Linked DNA regions of Homo sapiens: region 2 is linked to region 1. The links are contacts of gene promoters, found by promoter capture Hi-C in blood cells and fetal thymus (Javierre and others, 2016). All regions are on one chromosome and are shown on one strand. The core of a region is centred on a gene start or on the middle of the fragment in contact, and the rest is flanking DNA. Distances in the headings are between cores, read along the strand shown.

The links. The method cuts DNA at HindIII sites, captures the fragments that hold promoters and counts their contacts. A CHiCAGO score of 5 or more calls a contact.
Region 2: a fragment that was not itself captured here is called in contact with the fragment with the promoter of ZW10 in region 1 in 1 of 17 cell types (naive CD8 T cells); the score reaches 5.7 in naive CD8 T cells.

Annotation. Positions count from the first base shown.
Region 1 is chr11:113,772,350-113,775,310 of GRCh38, reverse strand. It overlaps ZW10 (zw10 kinetochore protein), which reads left to right and starts at 1,619. Exons shown (of 16, transcript NM_004724.4): 1 at 1,619-1,749. The coding sequence starts at 1,645. RefSeq lists enhancers at 1,429-1,488, 1,619-1,888. The HindIII fragment of the contact is 9,750 bases long and covers 987-2,961 here.
Region 2 is chr11:112,285,640-112,288,385 of GRCh38, reverse strand. The region is part of intron 1 of LINC02762 (long intergenic non-protein coding RNA 2762); the gene reads right to left. Among named protein-coding and RNA genes, the nearest start is that of LINC02762, 16 kb to the right of the region's middle. The HindIII fragment of the contact is 2,402 bases long and covers 78-2,479 here.

The sequences.
Region 1 (2,961 bases), core at 370-2,869:
TCTGTGATTATATATTCACATGTTGTGGGTCCCCAGACCTAGCACAATGTCTGCTATGTGATAATTGCTTAATAAATATGCAGTACAAAGTTTCAGAATTTTCATCTATCAGTCATTCTTTGTCATTGGGCATTTATTATTAGTTGCAGTTAGAATTCAAAGTTGACAGGTCTACCAAAAAGAAATTGATTTGGTTTTCCAAGGAAGGGAGTTTCTCAGGATGTTTTGGCTGTTTTCAGTGCTTCCTCTCTCAATCCCAGTTTTGTTTCCTTTGCTCATGGCATGTGAATTGGCCCTTGCTTCACTGGGATAAGCAGATTGTCTCAAAGACACTTAACAATTGTCAGGGATCTTAGAGTCAGTGCCTACTTGGGGTCAACCCTCACAATATATCTTTTTAAAAAACCAAAAACCTTTTAATCAAAACAGTACATCTGGCTCTTGGTATCCACGGATCCAACCAACCACAGATCAAAAATATTCTGGAAAAAACTAATAAAAAATAACAATACAACAACAAAAAATAATGCAAATCAAAATACAATATAACGACTCTATAGCATTTAGATTGATTTGTATTAGGTCTTATAAGTAATCAAGAGATGATTTAAAGTGTATGGGGAGGATGTGTGCTGGTTACTTGTAAACATTACATCATTTTATGTAAGAGACTTGAGCATCCACGGATTTTGCTACTGGGGCAGGGGAGGTTTCTGGAACCAATCCCCCCATACCAAGGGAGGACTGTGTATGTTTACTGCAGAAAAATAGAGAAAGCAAGGGCAGAGAAGAGAATAAATACCATAAATCCACCACCCATAGGATAATTTGATGTCTGTCCTTTACATACATACTTACATACTTTTTGTTTTCTGACCAATGGTTATACACTTAAGTTTTTAAAAAGGAATCATAGTATACATAGAATATTGTGAACATCTTTCTGTATGCAATGCATTAAAATAATGAAACCATTTTTAAAAGCTTTTGACACATTTATATATTTATAATATGACAGAAAGTACTAAGTATCTTGTTCACACAGGACTAATATTATGTATATCTAAGTAATATAAATATGTAATGTAGGTAATGTAAATGTGTAATGTATCACGTAGATGTAATATATGTACATAGATGCAATTATAAGCAACCTTTTATTTATAATGAGGTGACGCCACTTCTTTACACAACTCTAGAGGGCGCCATTCGTAGATTCTGGTGCCACAGCGGCCCAATAAAAGTTGAGGAAAAAAGATCGAGATGGGCTCGTTGGCTCTTTCAGTTAGATAATTTTACAAGTAAGCCTTTTGAAGTTTAGAAAGGTTCAGTTAGACCTGGTTATTAAAAACGTTTAATTTCCTCCAGTGAAAAACGGGCGGGAAGCAACGAACTTTGAAAACAACTAAGGAAGAAAACGCGTCTGCTTACAGTTTGCCAACTACGGGACACCGTGGAAATCCCATCTCGGGATTGGCGCGGTGCCTGCTGGGAGTTGTAGTGCGCCCCTCGCCTTCCGGGCGGCGGTCTGAGGCCCGCGAGACTCCGTTTCCCGGCAGGCCTCGCGTCAAGACGGCCGGCGGGACGGGAGCTGCGGCGCTGGCTACGAGAGTGACCCAGTCAGCGTTGGTTCCCGTCTTGGCCATGGCCTCGTTCGTGACAGAAGTTTTGGCACACTCCGGGAGGCTGGAAAAGGAGGATCTGGGGACCCGGATCAGCCGCCTGACCCGGCGGGTGGAGGAGATCAAGGTGAGAGCGGGGCAGCTGTCTGCTGACTGGAAGGGGACTCCGGGTCCTTGTGTGAAGGGACTGGAGAGAGGAGTCAGGGGCTAAGGGCAGACAGAGTGGGGACCAGCAGAGTGGGGCCTGTTGGGGAGATCTAGTTGTGGGGGCTGAATGAGGAGTGGAGGGGCCCAGAATGTGTGGATTGAGGAGGGATCTTGGAGGGGAGCCCACACAGGGGTTGGGAACTGAGGAGGCGAGGAGACCTGGGACTGTGGGGACGAACAGGCGGTGGCTGGAGAGCACTGGAGAGTGGAGTTATGTTGGGGAGGGGTGTGCCGCGGGAAGAGGGAGACTGAAGAGACCAGCAGAGCGGGAGGAGCAACTGGAAGCTCCGAGGAAGCTAGGGAGCGAGCGCAGGAGAGGAATAGAAAAGACAGGATCCCCCTTCCCCTTCTTCCATCGATGAGTGTTTATTTCCTCCACCCACTCCTTGATTTGTTGATGAATAAAATAGCCTGGAGGATTGCACCTTTCTCCTCCCCGACATTAAAAAAAAAACAAACCCAAACCCTCAGTATGTTTTTATTTTTATGTATCTATCTATCTTTTGAGATGGAGTCTTGCTCTGTCGCCCAGGCTGGAGTGATCTCGGCTCACCGCGACCTCTGCCTCCCGGGTTCAAGCGATTCTCCTGCCTCAGCCTCCCGAGTAGCTGAGATTACAGGCGCGTGCCACCACGCCTGGCTAATTTTTTTTTTTTTTTTTTTGTATTTTTAGTACAGACGGAGTTTCACCATGTTGGCCAGACTGGTCTCGAACTCTTGACCTCAGGTGATCCACCCGCCTCGGCCTCCCAAAGTGCTGGGATTACAGGTGTAAGCCACCGTCTCCGGCCTCTTAATGTGGTTTTAAAACTTCATCTACAAGCACATGAAGCTGTGCTGAGTGTCATTGGTACCTACGTAAACGTTGCTGCCTTGAGATTGATACAAAAACTGGAAGCACGTAGCCACACACAGTTTTGCTTTGTACTGATATTGTTACCTTGCCAGTATTTGTCCACATCTTCAGTTGCTTTCATTTAAAATTTTGTGTATCTGAGTCAAGTAGGGTTTCGAGGGAGCAAGTTTGCCACACACCATAAGGGCACAGGTATAACCCTTCCTAACAGCTCTTGATTTTACAAAAGTAGTTTCCTGAATTTTAAGTAGTCATATCCCTGACATCTCTTCTTTA
Region 2 (2,746 bases), core at 29-2,528, 1.5 Mb after region 1:
GGCCTGTTTCCTTTTCTGTATAGCTTTTATCACTATCTGAAGTTATCCTGCTTAGTTTACTTACTTATTTTCAAGCTTCCCCACCAGAATGTGAACTTGATGAGAACAGAGACTTTTGTTCATTACTGTTTCCGCAGAACCCGCAACAATGGTTAGCAATAAGTAGACAATAAACAATTGTTCAATGAATGACTGCAGCCTCTACACTCAGCTCAGGGAGATAAAAGGTAAGAAGAATGTGCTTTACACGTGCTATCCCCTTGGATCTTCACAACACTCTTTGGAAATAGATACAAATAGACATGATTAACCCCATTTAATAGATGAGAAACTCACATTGAAAGAAGTTAAGTGTTCAAAGCTGCACAGCTGAAGTGGCAGAGCTAAGATTCAAGTTCATGTCTACTTGACTGCAAAGGCTGCTTTTCATAAAATCACATTAACATCATGTTGGATACCTTCGATACACACAATACATTTTTTTTTAAGACGGAGTTTCACCCTTGTCACCCAGGCTGAAGTGCAGTGGCACAACCTCGGCTCACTGCAACCTCCACCTCCTGGGTTCAAGCGATTCTCCTGCCTCAGCCTCCCAAGTGGCTGGGACTACAGGCATGAGCCACTACATTGGCTAATTTTTGTATTTTTAGTAGATACAGGGTTTCATCATGCTGGCCAGGCTAGTCTCAAACTCCTGACCTCAGGTAATCCACTGGCCTTGGCCTCCCAAAGTGCTGGGATTACAGGCATGAGCTACCGCACCCGGCCAACATTTATTTTTTTTAAAAAAAATGTTAACCACATTGCCTCCCATTATCCCATTATCCACCTAGAAAAGCTAATAATAACAATGGCAAAGTCAAGAAATGTAGCCAAGGGGCCAACAGAGCCCCAGAGTCCTTAGAGAAACTGGCCACATCGGCATTTCCCCACTCGAGGACTCAGCCCCTGCCTCCAGTAGAAAATAGCAGAGGTGCCCACCTGGGAAGGCCTTGCCTTTATTATTCCTCTGGCCATAGCTGGCCATACCAAGGAGACCTCTTGCAGACATATCTTCTGGCCTGGCCCATGTTACTCTGTAAACCTAATGACATGTGTAACTCTCGTTGCTGATTACAACTGCCGAGCTCCTGTTGATCATCATGACAGGTAAGAGGCAAACACACATGCAGCTGCAATCAAGGACATGATGAGCACCTACCCTGAGCTCTGGATGGCACTGGGTGCTCAGGTTGCCCACATTTTAGACAGTCGCTGATTGGAGCAAGAATTATTAGGCCACACTCATCTGCATCCCCCAGGAAATGCTGGGTTGCCTTGACCCCCTGGGAGGAGTTATGAAGGGTCCCCACAGGCTAGAGCTTGGGTGGCTGGACACTGAGTTGGAGACCCTCGTACAAAGAAAGGGAGATTAAAATTTGTTCTGTAGAGTCAAGGGACTTGTGCTTGTCAACTTCCCCTCTTCATATGGCTTTGTTTCCCCATGTTGCTTTTAAACAGGTGGTTCAGGCAGGAGAAGAAATCAGCTCTTCCCTCCTCACCCCTATACTCCCCTTGGCCTGGCCCAGCTATAACTTCTGCTTATTCAAGACTCAGTAGTGTTGGTGCTGCCTCCAGGAAGCCTGTCCTGGCCCCTGAGACCTCTCCTCTGTGCTCAGAATAACCCCCATACATCACTGGATCCTGGTACTCGCCCTGCTGCATTATAATTATCTAAGTGTGGGTCTGTCTCCCATCCGGGCTGTGAGCTGAACTGAGGTAGGAACTGTGACCCATTTACTGTCATGTCTCCAGCTAACACCATGCCTGGCACAGAGTAAGTGGAATAAATATCTGGGCTAATGGAGTTGCTGGATTACCAGACTACGTGTTCTGACAGGTAGCTGGGAAGATAGGATCATCATAGTTCTAGTCTCTGTGCTGCCGACATTCACAAGCTCTTGGAAGACCTTAGGAATCATCTAGCCCTGTGCACAGGTTCCCACATCCTGAGGTCCCTGCACCAGGAAGGGTGGTCTGCCAGAACTACAAAGGCCGAGGGAACAACTTCTCAGGAAAGCCTTGGCCACAGGCTACTCTCATTTCTGAAGGCTCTGAGCCTATCTCACTGACCATTTAGAACAAATTGTTCATGACTCAACTTCATTATCTTCTACCCCGTATAGGAGCCCCAGCCTCCTCGGCTCTGCATTAGGTCATTGTTATCGCTCCCTTGTGGGCTTGCCATGTCACCTCCACAAGCAGCAGCAAAAATCACTTGCCAGAAAAAATGTCAGAAAAGCAATTAACATGAGCCTGGGTAGCAAGAAAGAAGCAACACATAAGAACAAAGGAGATGGCTCCTCCCTGCAAAGTCTGTGATTGCCTACCAGGGAAGCCAGCTCTGGGAGACCTGGGGATTGGGCTTGAGCCATCAGCCTCTGCCCCTGGTGCTTTATTTCAGAAGCACCAGCATCCCTTTAATCATGCGCAGGAAGCTTGACTGCTGTGGGAGCCCAAAGGGACCACCTGAAGCCTGTGATGAGACGGGCTGCAGCGCAGGAGAAAGACAGAGTCTCTCCCACTGCCTACTGAGGAATGCAGCTGCTCTGCAGCTGAACTTGGAGAGGCAAGAAAGAGAACAGACATTTAGGAAATGAGAGGTGACCCAGTGTCTGAACACTGAAGGTCATGGGGAGATACAAGAGACAGAGAACAGGCTGAGCATGGTGGCTCACGCCTGTAATCCCAGCACTTTGGGAGGTGG